7 separate regions of the Homo sapiens genome follow, and all the other regions are linked to region 6. The links are contacts of gene promoters, found by promoter capture Hi-C in blood cells and fetal thymus (Javierre and others, 2016). All regions are on one chromosome and are shown on one strand. Each heading gives the region's core, a stretch centred on a gene start or on the middle of the fragment in contact. The rest is flanking DNA. Distances are from core to core; before and after follow the strand shown. Region 1 overlaps SYT16 (synaptotagmin 16). Region 2 overlaps PRKCH (protein kinase C eta). Region 3 overlaps PRKCH (protein kinase C eta). Region 4 has its middle 11 kb from the start of SYT16. Region 5 overlaps PRKCH-AS1 (PRKCH antisense RNA 1). Region 6 holds the start of LINC03033 (long intergenic non-protein coding RNA 3033). Region 7 overlaps SNAPC1 (small nuclear RNA activating complex polypeptide 1).

Region 1 (2,765 bases), core at 18-2,517, 250 kb after region 6:
AAACTGATATCCTGTACTTCCTGATAGGAAGCACCGGGAAGGACACAATGCCACTTACTGTGCCACAAATGTATAACCTGGTTCTGATCACGAGGAAACATCAGACAAAGGCAAATCAAGAGACATTCTGTAAGTCAGTGTCATGAAAGATGGCTGAGGCACTGTTCAGATTGAAGAAGACTAAAGAGACCACTAAATGCAATGGATGATTTCAGGTTATATCCTAGATGAGGGAAAAAATGCGACAAAGGACAGTGTTGTGATAATTGGTGAGATTTGAATATGGCTTGTATATTGGATAATAGCATTGTATCAGTGTTAAATTTCTTAAATTTGATATTTTTATTGTGGTTGACATGGGACATGATATCTGTACCTAAATGTCAAAGGCTTTAGGAAAAAAGGATATATGCATGTATGTGTGCATTTATATGTATATGTGTATCATATGAGAGAGAAAGCAAAGGTGGCCGAAGGTTAGCATTTGGTAAATTTAGGAGTTCCTTGTGCTGTTCTTGCAGCTTTTCTGCGAATTTGGGGGAGGGAGTTTATAAATGAAAGCACTGAGCTATTAATCTGTATTCTAGGCTTTATGGTCTAATACTATTGAGTTTACTTTTTGAAATAAATAACGTTGGACTCCTAATTCTGTTGTGAAGTGATAATGTTAACAAAACTTTTTATTAGGGAAAATTTCATATACACAAGAAGAGAGAATAGTATAGTGAACCCCCATGTATCCAGGTCACATAGCTTTAATGAGCGTTGGTATTTCACCAGGCTTGTTGCATCCATCTCCACCTCCACCCCCACTTTTCTGGGAGAGGCATTTTGAAGGCAAATCCAAGACATCATGATGCTTCACTGCCCCTCTGTGCATACTTCCCTCCTCATAATCCCCAAGCTTTTATCAGACTTCAGTAGCAATTCTGCAATAATAGATGACAGCAGCCAGGCGCGGTGGCTCACGCCTGTAATCCCAGCACTTTGGGAGGCCGAGGCGGGTGGATCATGAGGTCAGGAGTTTGAGACCAGCCTGATCAACATGGTGAAACCCCATCTCTACTAAAATTACAAAAATTAGCAGGGCGTGGTGGCACTCATCTGTAATCCCAGCTACTTGGGAGGCTGAGGCAGGAGAATCGCTTGAACCTGGGAGGCGGAGGTTGCAGTGAGCCGAGATTGCTTCACCGCACTCCAGCCTGGGAGACACAGTGAGACTCTGTCTCAAAAAAAAAAAAAAAAAACAGCATTTAGATATTATTAATGTTATAGAATAGCAGAGTTCTGAGGAATGTACTGATTTGACATATATGGGCTGTGCACTTGTTTTAAGTTTGAAAAGCTGACTAAGCCTGGGTAATTATAAACAGTGTAGAAGAAAAGGTCTGTGAACCTGCTTGTTCTTGTTTTGTTTGCTAAACTGCTCCTCCTGTTTTTAAACCAAGAATTAAATTCTAGAAGAAAACATAAATATGGTTATGGTGGCAATATTCTCAACTGATTTACCCAGTTGATGTTATCTTATTGAAACATTCTAAGAGTAAATCAGCATAAATAATTTCATACTGTTTGAATAGAATTCCTATGTTTTCATTTCACCATGGCATCTTTGAATTGGTAAACCCAGTAAAGCTTTTTCTTGACCAACCTGAGTTTCTAAATGAATCTAAAATTTGGTCTATATGTTTTATAAAAGAAATGGGACAGACATCTTGGGAGGAATAAACCTTCCCTTCTCCTGAGTATAGTAGATTTGGATGACATTTGTCCTTTTAGATCACTAGGGTATTATTTAGTCATTAACTATTATTTAGCATTATGAATGATAAGATGGCTATTATGCCATTTAACAATTGTCTGTATATTAAGATGATAATCAAACTCACTGACAGTGCTTTCTAGTAGATTGGAGAGGTATCTGAAGTGCATATTACAAAAAAAATTTTATGCACAGCTGTCATCCTTCCATTAAGGATTATACATATCTGATTTTAGGTAGTTTACATTTATGGATGGATATTACCCCTTTAGAATAAAATTTTCTTATTGTGAGAATATAATATTCTTCTGGCGTCTAATTTTAGGAATATAATAAGTCACATTCTATAATTTTACTCACAATGGAGCAAAGATTAAGAGACATAAAATGATTTTACCCACCCTGCATGAAAATGCCCCTGGTTTATATACTTAATTCAAAAGAGCACCATACAGATAACCTACCAATTACAAGGAGGTTTTCAATTGGCTTAGCTCAATAGAAATTGCAAAAGATTGAAGAACTGAGTGTGGTATGGTGGAAGAGAGCACAGGCCTGGTTCCAGAGGTGCCTGAGTCGTGAACTCTGGTCCTGCCACTCAAAGGCTGGGTAAGAGGTAAATTGTTTAACTTCCCGGAGGCTTTGTCTTATTCCACTCTGAGGAATTACAAGGAGTAAAAGAGATGGAACAGAGTTGCTGGCACAACATATGCATTAATAAATGTCTGTCCCTTTACCTGCTACAAGATCCTTCCAATGGCGTGTACCTCCCCATAGGGTGTACCTCATATTATGAGAACAATCTGACTCAGAAACAGGGTGCCTAGTCATTGATTCCATTTTTTGTGTGTGAGGAATATAAAATTAAGAACAAATGATCTGTGTACAAATGTAAGACTAGGGAAGAGAATCTAGGACAAGCACCCAAAGGTGCAGAACTCAGATTTTAAATAGAAGTAATAATCATGTTTTCTTCCCCAATGTTTATTGTTTTGTGCAAGTG
Region 2 (2,747 bases), core at 24-2,523, 230 kb before region 6:
CATTAGCAGGGATAATTTAACCCCTGCAAGCCTGTTCTCTCATCCACAACACAGTACCTGCCTCACAGGGTTACTTCAGAACACAGTGAGGACTTATGTAAACCATCTACACAGGGCATGACATATACTACCGCAGAAAAATGATTGTTGATGTCACTTTCATTACCACCACTCTACCCTCAGCACTTCAATATGAAGTGATGGGCCCAGCCCTTTTCTGAAGTTAACTTTGAAAGCAGTAAGATATTTATTTACATAGAATTCAAGAGAAGGGATTTTTGAGTACAACTTCCTCACTGGTTTTGCTTTTAATGTAGGATTCTGGAATGTAAATCAGTAGGAGATTTCTAGTTACTGGTGGAAGAGAAGATGGCTTCCTTATCCCGGAATCACAGGGATTGGGGGTAAATTCTGTACATAGGTCCTCTCTGGAAGTTCTTGTAAGGAATATGGGAAAATGAAGCTGGAATTATTATAGTTACAATGTTGGCTAAAGTTGGTTCATGGAAACCTTGAAATTAAGTTTGTTGGTTTGCTTATTCAATATTGGACAGCAGAGGGTCTGAGTTAGTGAGAACCAACAAACCAGAAATAAATCAAGTTGCAATATTTAGCTGCAAAGGACAGAAAGAGGCCTTTGAAAAGCTGAAGTGAGTACTTTTATTGCTGTAATTAAGGGAAATAATGGTAAACAGGCTCTTTCAATTGGCATTAAAATATATTTTCCTTGGTTAGTTTGAATATCCAATACAAGTTGGTGGATGTGAATTGTTCTGTCATGCTTTCAAGGAGGAAAACTCTAGTTTTAAAAGTACGTCATTAGGGCCAGGTGTGGTGGCTCATGCCTGTAATTCCAGCACTATGGGGGGCTGAGGTGGGCAGATTGCTTGAGGTCTGGAGTTCGAGACCAACCTAGCCAGCATGGTGAAACTCTGTCTCTACTAAAAATACAAAAATTAGCTGGGCTTGGTGGTACGCACCTGTAATTCCAGCTACTTGGGAGGCTGAGGCATGAGAATTGCTTGAACCCAGGAGGCGAGGTGGAGGTTGCAGTGAGTCGAGATTGTGGACTCCAGCCTGGGTTACGAAGTGACAGTCTGTCTCAAAAAAAAAAAAAAAAAAAAAAAAGTACATCGTTTGAATATGGATTTATAGATGTATTCAAGGACACCAACAATTTTTTTTTTTTTTTTTTTTTGAGACAGGGTCTCACTGTGTCCCCCAGGCTGGAATGTAGTGGTGTGAACATGACTCACTGCAGTCTCAACCTCCTGGGCTCAAGTGATCCTCCTGCCTCAGTCTTCTGAGTAACTGGGACCATAGGCGTGCGCCACCAAGCTCAGCTAATTTTTTAATGTAGAGACAGGGTCTTGCCATGTTGCTTAGGCTGAACATTTGATTTGGCTTGCAGAAAATATGAAGTACTTTTTTTCCTATGTGGACTCAATTAAACAAAAAATTTTATTTTACAGAGATAGGATCTTACTCTGTTGCCCAGTCTGGAGTGCAGTGGTACATACAATCTTAACTCACTGTAACCTTGACCTCCTGGGCTCAACTGATCCTCTTGCCTCAGCCACCTGAGTAGCTGGGACTACAGTCGTGCACCACCGTGGTTGGCTAATTAGAAAACCTTTTTTCTTATAGAGGTAGGGTCTCACTATGTTGCCCAGGCTGCTCTCTAATTCCTGACTTCGAGTGATGCCACCCTTCATGGCCTCCCAAAGTGCTGGGATTACAGGCATGAGCCACCATGCCCCACCTGGGGACTCATTTGAAGGTGATCATTTCTACTTTTATTTGTTTACTGGACACTTGTTCTGGGACCTAGATCTTTCACAGTTGATTTTAAGTGAAAGGTTTCTGAACTGTATATATACAATATTTCAGAACAGTAATTTCCTTTGCTTCATAGTACGGCACAACAGTGTTTGCACTTGATGTTTAGCGTAGCCTTGGTTTTGGTTGTTCAGAAGCCTTTGTTAGCTCTTTGGTTGTGCCAAGAATATATTGTTTTTGAGTCTCCTTGCCGGGCCTCCTCGCCTTCTTGTCATGCACATCCTGTACCTGGGTTGTGGTTGTATTGATTTGCTGGGGCGCTGCTGTTGCAAATGTCTGGAGTGAATGAGAATGTGTTTGTGGGTGTCTGCCCTCACCTTGGCCACTGATCTGCTTTCAGCCCTGAAGTACTGCCATCTGCATGAACATTAGGGACCCCCAGCCTCCCCCACCACTTAGTAAAGTACCCTGCACATGTTTGGGATTCAGGAAATGTTTGTAGAAAGGAAAAATTCCTTATCATTCCTTACCATTCTCTGTCTTGAGTCTGAGTCATGATTCAAACACTTTTGCTAAAAGGTTTTCGCTTGAAAAATTCATATTCAGGTACAGATTTACTTTTTTTTGGTGTGTGTGAGTTTAAGAGCTGCCTCAGGAGTAGTTTAGAGAGAATGAATATACCAGTATGGTTTTTATTCCCTTGATTACTTAAATAAGTATTAAAGGTGTGTGAAAAGATTAGCTGAATCCTAGGTTCCTCAAACAAAATGTTAACTTTTGTTTGGGTGGTAAGAGATGGATTTCAAAATGGGAAAAAGCGAGACTGAAACCATCATCCAGCACACACTATGTCAGGAATGTATTAATGACAGCCTGCGCTTGATAAGAACAGGACACCAACAGGGGGCATAAACAAGATCTAGGTACAACTGTGACCTTGAAGTGACCTTGAGTTTAAGTTGCCATTT
Region 3 (2,724 bases), core at 127-2,626, 200 kb before region 6:
GTGGAATGTAGTATATATTGAGAAATATGATTGCAGTCAGTGTTCTTTTCTTGGACATTTGTCTTTCGAATCAACTCTAAAGTATTACATGTTTTGACTGTTTAATGCATTAGTTATGGGAGTAGATTCCCCAGAAGAATTATATTATTAATAGCAACTAACCAAAGGATTGGAAAGAAAAAATTGGGAAGAAAGTGACAGAAAGTTCTTGGTAAAAAACAGAACTTTATTTTTAAACTATTGATGCATAGATAGTATCTACAAGCAGTAATACATATGCATATATCTGTATGTTTATATGTGTATATATATGTGTGTATGTATGGTTTTTTATTTTTATTTTTATTTCTTTTTGAGACAGAGTCTTGCTCTGTCACCCAGGTTGGAGTGCAGTGGCGTGATCTCCGCCTCCCAGGTTCAAGCGATTCTCCTGTCTCAGCCTCCCAAGTAATTGGGATTACAGGCGCCCATCACCACACCTGGCTAATTTTTGTATTTTTAGTAGAGACAAGGTTTCACCATGTTGCTCAGGCTGCCTCGAACTCCTGACCTCAAGTGATCCGCCTGCCTCGGCCTCCCAAAGCGTTGGGATTACAGGCGTGAGCCACCGCACCCGGCCATGTGTGTTCTTTTAAAAACTGAGAACCCTAATACATAAACAATATACTTTCTTTGGTTGTTGGAGAAAAAGCGAAGGGATGAGGTGGTGATGAGAACAGTGAAGGCAAACTACAGTGGTTGCCCAACTTTACTGGAGTCACCTGGAGTTTGTTAAGTGCGATGCCAGTTTGCTAGGCCTGGGGGTGGGGCCTGCATTTGTAATAAGTGTATCAGGAAATTCTGACCCACGAGAGGTGGGAGAGGTTTAGCACTGGGTAGAAAAATGAAAGGCCCAATCTGTATTAAACCTGCTCCAAATCTTTGTATCCATTTTTGGATGAGGAGTTCCTGTTCAGATTTTCTGCAACTTTTCCTGAAATCAGAGTGTAATGGGCACAATATCATTCATATTAGTCAGTCTTAGCTCCAGAAAGTACTCATTATGTTAGATGTTCATTGGAAGTAGTTTGTAGCTGATTTTTTTCTCTTTCTTCGCTCTCTGTATTTCTGTCTTCTACTTCTGTTTTTAGTTGAAGAGAAGATACTTTACCAACAGCTTGTCTGAAAACAATTTGCAGATAGGAGTACTCATAGAAAACTCTTGGGGTTCTCACTGTGGGTCTTCTCCAGGGGTGTGGATAACACCAAACACTGCAGTATGGAAACTAGCGCAAAATGGGATGTGCTGTGACACTGGCCAGCTGGAGACAGTTGGGACAGGGGATGACTTAACGTTAACATGGGAATGTTACATACACAGTCTAGAAAGGCCAGATATTCTTTTGCACTGCTGCCTCTGGCTCTCTTTTCATCTATTTAGTGAATAACCAAATTTATCACCTGTAGTAATCAGTTACTAATTTAGAATTTAATTTCTTTAAGAGTTACCTGGATTTAGGGCTCAGTGAAGGCAGTTTTTATTTAAAAGCATTTTCTTGAATAAACATTTTAGAACAGTTTTAGTATTACAGAGAAACTGTGAAGATAGTGCAGAGAATTCCCATATACCCAACAGTCAGTTTTCTGTATTATTAATGTCTTAGGTTAGTATGCTACATTGTCACAGCTAATGAATCAATAATGATACATTATTACTAATTAAACTTCATAGTTTATCAGATTTCCTTAGATTTTACCTACTGTTCCATTTCTGTGTTAGGATCCCATTCAAGATACCACATCATGTTTATATGTCTGCTTAGGTTCTTCTAGTCTGTGACAGTTTCTCAGACTTTCCTTGGTTTTGGTGAGCTTGACAGCTTGACAAGTCCTCGTCAGGTATTTTATAGAATGTCCTTCAAATTGGGTTTGTCTAATGTTTTTCCTGTGGTTCAAGGGTTTTGGGAGGAAGACCACACAGGCAGGCATAGTACCACATTTCATTCCATCATGTCATATCAATTGCATAATTAGCTTTTACATGCATACATGCTATCAAAACGACCTATCACTGTTGATGTGAACCTTGATTGCATGGCTAAAATTATGTTTGTCAGATTTCTCACATAAAGTTCCTCTTCCCCTTCTTTCCATACTGTACTCTTGGGAAGGAAGTCACTGTACATAGCTCACACTTTAGTTGTGGAGAATTATGCTCTACCTCCCTGAGGGAGGTAGTATTTAGAGAAATTATTGGGAATTCCTCTGCTTGGGAGATTTGTCTATTCTCCCCCATTTATTTATTCTATCATTTATTTGTATCAGTATGGACTCATGCATATTTTATATTTTAGGTTATAATCTAATATCACATGATTGTGCTCCTCAAATTGTTTCAGATTTGGTTTTTGGGAGCTGTTTCAATAGGCTCCTGTGTCCCTTTGTGACATGCCACCCATCCTGGTGGGTTTTTGTTGTTGCATGTGTGCTTTTTAAAATCACATCCTTATTCTTTCTGGCACTAAAAGATGCCCCTGGCTCACTTTGTATATTCTTTGCCCCATCCCTAGAATCAGTTATTTCTCCAGGGACCCTGGTTCCTTTTGTTGGAGAATGGTTTTAGAAACCAAGTTCTGGGCACTGCGTGTCCTTGTTGCTACTGAGGTGTCATTGCTTTTAGGTCTGTTCAGCTGACGGAACAGAGAAATAGGTGTATACTCACCCTTGTATATACACATATCTGTA
Region 4 (3,019 bases), core at 102-2,601, 230 kb after region 6:
GCAGTGAGCCAAGATTGCACCACTGCACTCCAGCCTGGGGGACAGAGTGAGACTTTATCTCAAAAAAAAAAAGAGAAAAGAAAAAAAAAAGTTCAGTTGATGCAGCATTGCACAGTGGAAGAGTATCAGACAGCGTGGATTTGCTCTGAGATTACAATCTGCATATGAGACGTAATAAAATCTACCTGTAAGTTAGGGATGGATATATCCCATTTTATCCTCTTCCATCCTTTGAGATATTGTCATCATATTTTACTGCTATGATATAAACCCCATCATACAGTTATATTCTTACTTTAAATAAAGGAAAAAATAGGAGAAAAAGCTGTTACATTTACCCACATGGGAACCTTATCCACTGCTCTTCATTCCTTCATGCAAATCTATGCTTTCACCTGGGACAATTTTCCCTCAGCCTGGAGACATTCTTTTAATTTATTGAAGCTTAGTTCTGTTGGAGATCAATTCTATCAGATTTTGTTTTTCTGAGTCTTTATTTAACCATTTTTGAAGGATATTTTTCCTGGATTTGAATTCTAGGTAGACACCTCTTTTCTTTCATCACGTTAAGGATTGTTGCATGTCTTCAGCCTTCATTGTTTCTGATGAGAAGTTTTCATTCTTACCCATTTTTTGGTATATAACACGCCCTTTTTCTCTGGCCACTTTTAAGTTTTTTTTTTTTTTTTTTTTTACTTTATTTTCAGCCATTTGCATGATGTGCCTAGTGCAGTTAATTTTTCCAGTATATTGTATATGTTTTTCTGTACTGGTCTCACTTGCTTCTCTTTCTAGGACTCCAATTACATGTCTGTTAACTGCTTAATACTGTCCCAAATGTTATTGTGGCTTCCTCCCACACCCCCAGTAATTTTTCTCTCCGTGCTTCAGATTGAATGATTTGACTTGTCTTCAAGTTCATGAATTATTTCTTCTTTTGTATTCAATCTGCTGTTAATCCCATTCAATAACTTTAATTTTAGATGTAGTATTTTTCAGTTCTAACATTTCTCCTTGGTTCTTCTTCATGGTTTTCATATCTGCACTGAAATGTCCCATTTCTTCACCAATTATAACATTTTTTGCTGTAGGTTTATACTATTTTATAGATACTATAAATTTATACTGTAGGTGCTATAAGTTTAGCAAATTTAGCTACCTTGAAGTGTTTGCTAGTTTCAACATTGGGGGCATCAGTATGTCTGTTTCCCCCAAAGAGTATATCTGTTTTTATTGACCGATTTATTTTTTTATTGACTGTGGTTTACATTTTCATGTTTCTTTCCCTGTCTACTAATATTTTATTGTATGATAATACATGTTAGGGACTCTGAATTCTATCACCTTCCTCTAAAGAGTGTTGAGTTTTGTTCTATAAGGCAGTTAAGTTATGACAGAGCATCTTATACTTAAAGGGGCTTGATTGTAGGCTTTGTCAGGGTGGATCTATTCAGCTTGATCCTTAGTTTTAGGGCAAATCCCTTAGTCCTGGAAGTGGTCCCTAAATCTAAGGTGTGGGCTTTTTGAAGTTTAATGGAAACCGTGAAGTGTTTGCCACATCACTCTATTCTTGCAAGACTTGAACTTTGAACTCAGGAGACCTTTGGGTGGTCAGCTGCTGAAATACCCACTCGGGACTTTCAGATTTCTAGCTCTTTGCCCTAGAATCATGGGGGTTTTTGCCTTGCTTGCAGCCAAAGATCTGAGGGGATTTTATACACAGATTTTGGAGTTTCTATGATTGCTCCTTTTAGGGATTTCCCATCTTGACTTCTAACCACTCTGACAGCCCAAACTCCATTCTCTGACTCCTCAGATAGGTAAGACTATGACATTCTGCCTGAGTCCTACCTGCCCAGTGCCATGGACAGGGGAGTGCACTCAGGTAAAGTTGTATAAACATGCATATCTCCTTTACAGCATTGAATCCCTTACAGTTGCTATCACGGAAAGTAATCATTAGGTGACATCCCCCTATTTACCCTGAAGTTACTGAACCATCTTCCCTGGATTTGTGCAGGGTGTCTCCTAATTTACGAAGATTCCAATTAGATTGGGAGTATGACTTAACTCATTTAAGTCACCCAAATGCTATTTGATCATAATTTAGTGTCTTGTTAACCTAATGGCTTGAAATAAATTGACGCACTTCTGAAAATAGGGTAAAAATCCCTGATTTTTCAAGGAGGCTAATCTTCCGTAAATGCTAAGCACTATAGAATCAATTATGTTATTAATTTGCTCTTGGTTGCAAGCTACAAAGCTTGATCAGGCTAATTACAGATTATGCTCTGAGGAAAATATTTTTATATGCACTATTTTTTTCTTGCAGGCACTTTAATATGAGGTTTTAAAAAACCTTACTTAAGACAAATAAAAAAGAAAACCTTCATGTAATTACTTTACCTGCAGGCTAATTTTTAAATACTTCAACACCGTAACAATTAAATGGGCTATGTTAGCTTCAGTTGACAACATTTATTTATTTATTTATTTGCAATGAGACCTCATAATATCCACCAGGCTGGTCTCGAACTCCTGGGCTCAAGAGATCCTCTTGTCTTAGCCTCCCAAATAGCTGGGCCTACAGGTGCCAGCCATTCTGCCTAGCTAGTTGATCACTTTTAGGGAAGGCAACACCCACAAGATTTGTTGGACCTGAACTTCTTATGGTGTGTCTGATTTTAAATGAAATGAATTTTGCTAAAGTCTCACAAATGGTTAACTCTTCTGCCTTTATTACATGTTTTAAATAGTTGATTTATCTCTTAGTTTCTTGCAGCATAATTGGTATATTGCTTCTCTTGCTAACATGTCATTTTACTGTAGGTGGTTAACTGAATGTATTCTCTCTGTAAATTTCAACAAGTTGCTCATAAAATTTTCCCAGCAGAAACTTTTTGTTTCGTATTTAAAAACTGAATACACTGTCCTTTATTTAGAGAGTGTATGTTTGGAAAATCATCCTGTTTATTTGTAAATAAAGATGAACCAGCCAGTCACAAGATATAGTTTGTCT
Region 5 (2,700 bases), core at 42-2,541, 250 kb before region 6:
CACCTTGCCTGTCCCCAGAGAGGTATTTTAAAACACAAATCCTCATCTTACCCTGGCTCTGCTTAACAGCCTTCAGAGGCGTCCAGTGGCCCATAGATAATGTCCAAGGCTTTCCTGTGATCTACCAGTCTGGTCAGTGTGACCACCTTTGCAAGCTCATTTCAGCCACTCTCCCCTCACCTTCCTCAGCTCCAGCCACGCCTTCCTCAGCTCCAGCCACGTAGGGTGCTTTTGGTTCCCAAACAGGCCAACCCATCTGTCTCCTCAGGAGCTCTCAATGAGCTGATCTCTCTGCTATTTGCTTTTTCAAGGAACCCTTCCCTGACCACCCATCCAGTTATAATACATCACCCCTTGGCACCGTGGGCTTTTCCTTCACTGCACCCTCTTCTATTAGTTGTTTTTCCTCCTTGTGGGACTGTAAGCCCCAGGAGGGCAGGCACCATGGCTGTCTGACCCACTGCTCTGTCACCATTGCCAATCCTGATAGGTACTGATAGGGTGAAGATGGAGTGTCTGGTATCGTCATATCCCAGTCCCAGGACAGCTGTGTGGCCACCTACCATTTGGGGACTGTTTTCTTTTTAAAATTTAAAAAAAAATTTAAAGTCTACACCCCATGATTCTGTATGGGGACTGTTTTCTTTTAGCCCCAAAGTCCAACAGGAGCAAATCCTTTAGTGGCTCTTAAAGCTAGAGTTCAGCTGTTTGGAGGAAAGGGTGACAGAGCTGACCCACAGGGTAGATGCGACATCTTCCCCTGGAGCACTAAGGCCAAACAGGAGCCCCCTGGACGTTTGGGAGCAGGCTTTACAAGCCCTGCCTAAAGCTAAGATGTCATTAGAGTGATGCGTTGCATCCCTGCCTTGTTCTCTAAGGAAGCTTTGGTGTTTTCAAGACAGGCCCTTTCCCCCCTGGCCCATTGTCCTTACTTGTTTTCATTCTGTATAGTGCTGTTATTACGGGTCAGGCCTCCTTGCACTCATGTGAAATCGTTGAGAACCTACTCAATTAGAAAGTTCTGAACAGGGCCTTAGAGGAGTGGGGGCTAGAAAGATGAACCTGGGGCCAGGCACGGGGGCTCATGCCTGTAATCTTAACACTTTAGGAGGCAGGGGCTGGAAGATCACTTGAACCTGGGAGCTGGAGGTTATGGTAAGCCATGATCACACCGCTGTATTCCAGCCTGGATGACAAAGCAAAACCCAGTCTCTAAAACATAAAAGAAAGAAAGGAGGGAAGGAAGAAAGAAAGGAATGAAAGCAAGCCGAATCTGCTCCGAGGGAACCAGTATAGCAAGACAGAATGTAATCAAGTATCTTAAGAGTGGCCTAGGCTTGGCTGGGTGCTGTGGCTCACGCCTGTAATCTCAGCACTTTGGGAGGCCGAGGCAGGCGAATCACTTGAGGTCGGGAGTTTGAGACCAGCCTGACCAACATGGAGAAACCCTGTCTCTACTAAAAATACAAAATTAGCCGGGCGTGGTGGCGCATGCCTGTAATTCCAGCTACTCGGGAGGCTGGGGCAGGTGAATCGCTCGAACCTGGGAGGCGGAGGTTGCGGTGAGCCGAGATGGCGCCATTGCACTCCAGCCTGGGCAACAAAAGCGAAACTCCGTCTCAAAAACAACAACAACAACAACAACAAAAAGTGGCCTAGGCTTTTTGGGGAACAAATTGGTTGTGGCTGGCCCTCAGGGAGCAAGCTTTGCGGCATAGCAGCGTAGGCTAAAAGGTCCTCCCCGGAGACAAAATCTGCAGGGACCACGGGGTGGGAAGCATCAGAAGGCTGCCCACTCTGACTGCAAATACAACAAGCTGGAGTGTTCCTAGAAGAGGCAATTTCTTCCGCGTGTGTGTTGGGGACAGCCTGTGTGTGTGAACATTTTCTGCCCTTGCCGCGCAGAGCTGGGTGGACCAGAAACCACCCGCAGAGGAAGAGACTTATTACCTCTTGGCCATGTCTGTCTCCAGAAGAACCGACCTTTCCTGCTCTATGTGCAACAAGACACACCTTCCGAGGAAGGAGGCGAACAGGATTTCCATCATTACTACTGCCCTATTAAAACACACACATACACACAACTGTGTAATTAGCCTCTGCAGGAAAGGCGCACAAACAGGATGCGTTCGAGCTGACCCCGGGATGAGCCATCCCTGTAAATATTAGGAAAAAGAACCTCCCCGCCGTGCCCCCGCCTCCGGCCAGGGCCTCTTGGGGATGGCCCTGCAGGGTCACCAGCCCACCGGGGAGGTTGGGAGAGAGGGGGCGGGCGACTCCTCGCCGCGCGGGTTCCTGGCTGGAGCGCCCTCCTCTGCGTCCTCCCAACCTTCCATCGCTCCCCAGGTCAGTCTACCACGCCTCAGGTGTTTGCTCGGGCTGGGCCACGAACCCTTTCCTTTTTGGCCTGCGCCCGGGGTGGCCCCTAACCCGCAGCGCACGGCCAGACCCAGCGCTACAAGGAGGGCGCGCAGGGCGGCGCAAGCGGGCACTGGCCTCCCGGGGGCTTGCGCGGGGATCCACCCACCGCAGGGCCGGGCCGCGGACCGCGGGCCACGCCCCTGGGGTCCGGAAGGCGCGGGAGCGGACGCGGGGGTTCTGTGAACTTGGAACCTGGCGGTGCGAGGTTCTCGCCGGGGATGCGGCGGCGGCAGCTGCTTCCTGGTTTGAAGCTCGCCGAGTGGGGGAGAGCGTGAGCCT
Region 6 (2,945 bases), core at 53-2,552:
CATGGCCCGAACTTGATGTCTGCTGCTTCTAGAAGCCTAGTGCTCCAAATATCTGCTCTGGGAGGGACTTGCAGATGATCCTGATTGGAAATGAGGCTGATTAACCTTTTGTGTATCATTGACTCTAGGACAATCTGTTGAAACCTAGGGGCTCTTACCCTAGACAAATTAACACACCAGCCAGATACAGCTTACAAGGGCAGAGAGTTGCTGGTTTGAACCACAGACCCCTGGTTTAACATCTGTAATCTAGTCAACCCCTCCTCTTTCTTGAAGGCTGAACCAAACACGAAGGGTTTTCCCCACCTTCCAATCCTCATACATGCAGACACCCCCTTTTCCTGCTTTCTCCTTCAGTCATCTTCCTCACCATCCCCCATGCTTGGGCACTCTCAGGAGGGAAATTGTCCTATAAATATCTGTAAAAGGCATGGTATGTCCTGTAGCAGAGAAAGCAAAAAATAAAAATATAATTCCTCCACCCCTGGCATGGCACGTGCAGAGCTCTGCCTGATCCTTCTCTCCCACAAGCCTCGGGGGTGGGTAAACAAAAGTGAGAGGTGAAGCTGCTGCAGCGAAGTACCCCTTCAAAATCTTCAGTACCCTTCAGAGCCAGCGCTGTCATCACTATCACATAAACTGTACAACTCCAACGTCAACCAGCAGCCGCCTGGCTGGCAGCAGGAAGAGCCAATGCAATTTTGCACAGTGGCTTGCTTGCCCAAGGTATTGCCTGGCAAATGGGCTTCTTGTGCAATGGGGAACCACAGGGAGGGGCCTCTTAAATGTACCTCAAAGAAACAGCTCTAACAATGGATGATTCAACAGGCTAGTAATTGGCGCTCACTCTTACCACATTGTTTTGATAAAACGACATAGCCCAACTGGGGATATGAAGGCAGTAAGTAGAAAAGCTAACCTCTTGCTACTCAAATTGTGGCTGAGAACCAGCGACATCCCATCACCAGAAGCTTTATAGAAAAGCCAGGCTCTGTCCCAGACCTATTGAAAGGAGATCTGCATTTTAACATGATTGCGAGAGGATCCACATCTTAAAGTTTCAGAGGCCTAATCCAAAGTCTTCTGATAATGATCATTAGAGTCCCAGCCACCCCCGACTTCCCCCTGGGAAAACCACAACAAATAGAACAAATTCCTCCAAGCTCTGCTCATAAGAAGAACCCACAACCCACAGACACCCCCTCACTCAACTAGAGACCTCACCCACCTGTTTGCAGAGTCACCCACCTTGGGCTACTTCTTTTCTACTATTTAATCTTCTGGGAAAACAGAGGTCTTCTATTTGGAGATAAAAATGACAAAGGAGAACCTCCTGAACAGCATCCAGTTTGCTTTTAGCTTTAGCCATCTCTCTGACCTCAGTGCTGCTGGACTCAGTTCCAAGATCTAACTGTCAAATGCTTTAGGGGAAACGGGAAGAGAAGTCCCTGGAGTAACCCATGTGCGCAGCCTGGCACTGTTTTCACTTGCCTTTGGAAATGAAGGTGCAGAAACCATGGGAGGTAAGGAGGGCACAGACTAGTGACTTCCAGTGTGGGACAGAGGGGAAAAGATGGAAGAGAAGTGCAGAAAACCACTCGGGAAAAGACAGGCTGGAGTGATGCCTGCTGAGACAGGGCCCTGATCTCCCAGGACTTCCCTTTCTGCCTGTTCTGTAGAAATGTCTCGGGTTTTGTGGTTTAGGAAAAGAGATGCTTAGCAAGCTTGTAGAAAATGTAATGTGGGCACTTTGTTGCTGTCCTGGCTTTTAAAGGACTCTGAAGCAGATCAGCTTCAAGGTATTGGCTATTCTGTTTGCAGCCTTAGAAAGACATCCTTGATGTTTTATTGTTCTGCCTTTGCTAAGAGCTGGAAACTCTCCCTGGGGAAATGGCTCACCTTGAAAGAGATGCTATCGTAGCTGAAAATGTTTTAGCTTCACTTCCAATCTCTGGTTCCTTGTGGGAAGTAACTGCTGCTGTGGTATATATGCCCTGTGCCTTTTATTTTTACCATCTTTACCTCGGTGGACACAGCTGGTTGAAACTCAGTAAAACTTATGCTTCCATGGAGATTGATTCAGACAACAGGAAAAATAAGTGTAGAAAAAAACTGCACAGTACAAGGGCTAGATTCAGGTTGTAGAACAAAGTGATTATTACTTAGAATCCTGGATTAGCAAGAGAATAAGAAAGATGCTGAGATTACCTAGTGTTATCACCATCCACGTGAAACGTAGAATAAAACTTTTTCCCCACCACATAGATATTGGGCAGTTTATTATAGATGCTACAAAGGGATTTATTATATTTTTCCCAAAATGGTTAATTAGAGGCATCCCAAATTACAACTCCTTTAGCATAACTCCCAGCTCCATGCAGCCTACTTACTAAGGACCCAGCTACTGACAGCTCAGCTCTTTGCCAATCCAACTTTTTTTCCCCATATGCTCAAACTTTTCTTCTCCAAGAAGACTTCCTGAATGATCCCAATTCATAGGGATCTCATCCTTAATGCAGGGGAAATTCACTGTTCTGGAGTAGTCTACCATACCATCACGCTCTTCTTTTTGTGTAATCCTGGATTTCTTCTCCAGTTGTTTTATTCTTGCCTGTCTACACAGATAGATCAGTAGCCTTCAATAGTCTGCATCTCCTGTTATCTTGCAGCCTCCTACTATAAACAGTAGGTGCTTTACTTATGCCAGTTGGGTTGACCTAGACAGTAGTCTCTAAGTAGCAGTCCTTGGCTCATCCTTCTGAAACCAACGAGCTCTTAGGCAGGCTGAGAAAGGGTTAGGACTGTTCACTCTGGGACATCCTTGGCTCTGTATGAGTGTTGTTTTTAAAAGCAGGGATTTTGTCTCCAGTGCATTGAAGAGATAAAACCCCATTGTCAGCATATTTCTTCAGGATCTTTCTGTGTTAGATCTCACTGCCAAGCCA
Region 7 (2,700 bases), core at 90-2,589, 200 kb after region 6:
GCCCGCCTCGGCCTCCCAAAGTGCTGGGATTGCAGGCGCGGGCCACCATGCCTGGCCTTTTTTTTTTTTTTATTTTTTAAGGCAGAGTTTCCCTTTTATTGCCCAGGCTGGAATGCAGTGGCACGATCTCGGCTCACTGCAGCCTCCACCTCCCCACCTCCCAGGTTCAAGCGATTCTCCTTCCTCCGCCTCCCGAGTAGCTCGGACAACAGGCACCCGCCACCATGCCTGGCTAATTTTTTGTATTTTTAGTAGAAATGGGGTTTCACCATGTTGGCCAGGGTGGTCTCGAACTCCTGACCTCAGGTGATCCGCCTACCTCGGCCTTCCAAAGTGCTGGGATTACAGGCATGAGCCATCGTGCACGGCCCCCAGTTTTAAAAATAAGGAAACTGAGGTTTAGAGAAGTTAAGTAGTTTGTATAAGGTGAGGCACAATAAGGTACAGACACTATGTTTGAATGTCCAAGTCTATAAGGCTCCAAAGTCCATGCACTGTCTTTTATTTCTTATTTAATTTTCTTCTTCTTTTTTTTTTTTTTTTTTAAAGGTGGGGGTCTTGCTGTGTTGCCTGAGTTGGCCTTGAATTCCTGGGCTCAAGCCATCCTCATGCCTCAGGCTTCTGAGTAGCTGGGACTACAGGTGCACACTACTGTGCCTGGCTTCTTTAATCTTCTATAGTGCTTTACATTCTACTGAATACTTTCACCTGTATAAGCTTGTTTAATACTTAACAATGGTGGGTTTGTTCATTTTGTACAAATGCGAAACATGAACATGATTCTTAGGTTGAGGGACTTCCCCATTGTCATCCATTGAGCAAATGACAGAGCTCAGACTCAAAAATTAGATCTGACTGGTGGTCTTTCTCTATCACATGAAGTAAAAATAATGAGAGTATAGCCAATGTAAACTGTAAAGAGTTAGGGGCTCTCCATGTCTGGACACTGTTCTCCCATTGCAGATCCTGCATATATGAGCACTCACTCACCACTATTGATCAGTTTCTCATTTTTTTTTTTTTTTTTTTTTTTTTTTTTTGAGAGGCAGAGTTTCACTCTTGTTGCGCAGGCTGGAGTGCAATGGTGCGATCCTGGCTTACCGCAACCTCTGCCTCCCAGGTTCCAGTGATTCTCCTGCCTCAGCCTCCCGAGTAGCTGGGATTACAAGCATGTGCCACCACACCCGGCTAACTTTGTATTTTTAGTAGAGACGGGGTTTCTCCATGTTGGTCTGGCTGGTCTCGAACTCCAGACCTCAGGTGATCTGCCCACCTTGGCCTCCAAGAGTGCTGGGATTACAGGAGTCAGCCACTGTGCCTGGCCTAGTTTCTCATTTCTTGAACAGGTGTTGATTCTACCAAAATCTGGAAATGAATTGAGTGGTCTGAGTTAGGGATGACTCAGATGTTGCAATGTCCATCTGTGATGGAAGTGTCAGTAGTTCTCTCTTGATCTTAGAGCCAAGTCCCTATGCCAGGTTTTCTTAAGTCCACTCTGTGGTATGCTGTCTTTTTCCTTACCCCACAGATCTGCCCATTTGGCTGGAGATTTTTGGAGGAAGAAGATCTAATAAATAATGCCACAAATGGTGTCATAAATCACCCTCTATTTCTTTCTTTTTTTTTTTTCTTGAGATGGAGTCTTGCTCTGTTACCCCTGCTGGAGTGCGGTGGTGGTTCAATCTTGGCTCACTGCAACCTCCGCCTCCCGGGTTCAAGCAATTCTCCTACCTCAGCCTCCCAGGTAGCTGGGATTACAGGCGCCCACCCCCATACCCGGCTAATTTTTGTATTTTTAGTAGAGACGGGGTTTCACCATGTTGGCCAGTCTGGTCTTGAACTCCTGATCTGGTGATTCTCCCACCTTGGCCTCCCAAAGTGCTGGGATTATAGGTGTGAGCCACCACACCTGGCCTACCCTCTATATCTTTAATCCTGAATGTTATCGCTGAAGCAATGGGGAAGCTTATGGGAACAGGCACATACGTTTTGGGATTTCTGTGGCAGGTTGGATGAGAGTCGTTACATAGGAATTTCCAGCAGAGCATAAAGGACTATGTAAATATTCTTGATGTGACAATATGATATAAAAATATCTTAGTTATCAGTAGTGATATTTAATGATATGTCATGCTACAAATAATTGTGATATTCTAGAATGGAATTTTATGTTAACTGATTTGTCTTTCCCCAATGTCTTCCCCATAAGTGTATCTTATATCTTAGTTAATGTTTGTTGAGGTAAGTCAGTAAATCCATACCTCTGGAATCCACACCTCTATGTTAATGAAGTTGTACTATTTTGCTTACATGATTATGTTATTTTTAATATACTATAGCATGTTATTACCTATCAACTGGAAGTCACTTTGGAAGGTGACTATTTTGTGTTGGTTTTGCCTTTTAGTTTCTCCTCAAAAAGTGAAGAAATAAAGGACTCATCTTTTTGCTTTTAGGAAATGCTGAATGTTCATGATCATTATCAGAACATGAAACATGTAATTTCAGTTGATAAGTCCAAGCCAGATAAAGCCCTCAGCTTGATAAAGGATGATTTTTTTGACAATATTAAGAACATAGTTTTGGAGCATCAGCAGTGGCACAAAGACAGAAAGGTATGCAATCACTTGTTTGGTGCCTCACCATTGTATTTTACACGAATGTTTATCCGTGGATGATAATGTTGGGAGGCAGCCTAGT

The links. Contacts are between HindIII fragments. The CHiCAGO score rates a contact against its expected background, and 5 or more counts as called.
Region 1: a contact is called between a fragment that was not itself captured here and the fragment with the promoter of LINC03033 in region 6, in 3 of 17 cell types (neutrophils, activated CD4 T cells and non-activated CD4 T cells). The highest score is 11.6, in neutrophils.
Region 2: a fragment that was not itself captured here is called in contact with the fragment with the promoter of LINC03033 in region 6 in 1 of 17 cell types (activated CD4 T cells); the score reaches 8.1 in activated CD4 T cells.
Region 3: a contact is called between a fragment that was not itself captured here and the fragment with the promoter of LINC03033 in region 6, in 1 of 17 cell types (activated CD4 T cells). The highest score is 6.6, in activated CD4 T cells.
Region 4: a fragment that was not itself captured here is called in contact with the fragment with the promoter of LINC03033 in region 6 in 9 of 17 cell types (neutrophils, activated CD4 T cells, non-activated CD4 T cells and 6 more); the score reaches 14.2 in neutrophils.
Region 5: a fragment that was not itself captured here is called in contact with the fragment with the promoter of LINC03033 in region 6 in 1 of 17 cell types (activated CD4 T cells); the score reaches 8.9 in activated CD4 T cells.
Region 7: a fragment that was not itself captured here is called in contact with the fragment with the promoter of LINC03033 in region 6 in 10 of 17 cell types (neutrophils, activated CD4 T cells, total B cells and 7 more); the score reaches 17.9 in neutrophils.

The regions. Positions count from the first base shown.
Region 1 is chr14:61,817,449-61,820,213 of GRCh38, forward strand. All of the region lies in intron 1 of SYT16 (synaptotagmin 16), which reads left to right. Among named protein-coding and RNA genes, the nearest start is that of SYT16, 6.1 kb to the left of the region's middle. The HindIII fragment of the contact is 731 bases long and covers 903-1,633 here.
Region 2 is chr14:61,335,964-61,338,710 of GRCh38, forward strand. All of the region lies in intron 1 of PRKCH (protein kinase C eta), which reads left to right. Among named protein-coding and RNA genes, the nearest start is that of PRKCH-AS1, 15 kb to the left of the region's middle. The HindIII fragment of the contact is 4,334 bases long and covers 1-2,747 here.
Region 3 is chr14:61,369,624-61,372,347 of GRCh38, forward strand. The region is part of intron 1 of PRKCH (protein kinase C eta); the gene reads left to right. Among named protein-coding and RNA genes, the nearest start is that of PRKCH-AS1, 48 kb to the left of the region's middle. The HindIII fragment of the contact is 8,632 bases long and covers 1-2,724 here.
Region 4 is chr14:61,800,634-61,803,652 of GRCh38, forward strand. No RefSeq gene overlaps it. Among named protein-coding and RNA genes, the nearest start is that of SYT16, 11 kb to the right of the region's middle. The HindIII fragment of the contact is 1,819 bases long and covers 443-2,261 here.
Region 5 is chr14:61,318,979-61,321,678 of GRCh38, forward strand. The region is part of intron 1 of PRKCH-AS1 (PRKCH antisense RNA 1); the gene reads right to left. PRKCH (protein kinase C eta) reads left to right here and starts at 2,601. Exons shown (of 14, transcript NM_006255.5): 1 at 2,601-2,700. RefSeq lists a silencer at 2,394-2,663. The HindIII fragment of the contact is 823 bases long and covers 881-1,703 here.
Region 6 is chr14:61,569,238-61,572,182 of GRCh38, forward strand. It overlaps LINC03033 (long intergenic non-protein coding RNA 3033), which reads left to right and starts at 1,303. Exons shown (of 3, transcript NR_039985.1): 1 at 1,303-1,523. LINC01303 (long intergenic non-protein coding RNA 1303) reads right to left here and starts at 1,416. Exons shown (of 5, transcript NR_110416.1): 1 at 1,249-1,416; 2 at 307-440. RefSeq lists an enhancer at 1-9 and a silencer at 401-593. The HindIII fragment of the contact is 753 bases long and covers 970-1,722 here.
Region 7 is chr14:61,773,639-61,776,338 of GRCh38, forward strand. SNAPC1 (small nuclear RNA activating complex polypeptide 1) reads left to right here. Exons shown (of 10, transcript NM_003082.4): 5 at 2,457-2,615. Among named protein-coding and RNA genes, the nearest start is that of SNAPC1, 13 kb to the left of the region's middle. The HindIII fragment of the contact is 1,248 bases long and covers 716-1,963 here.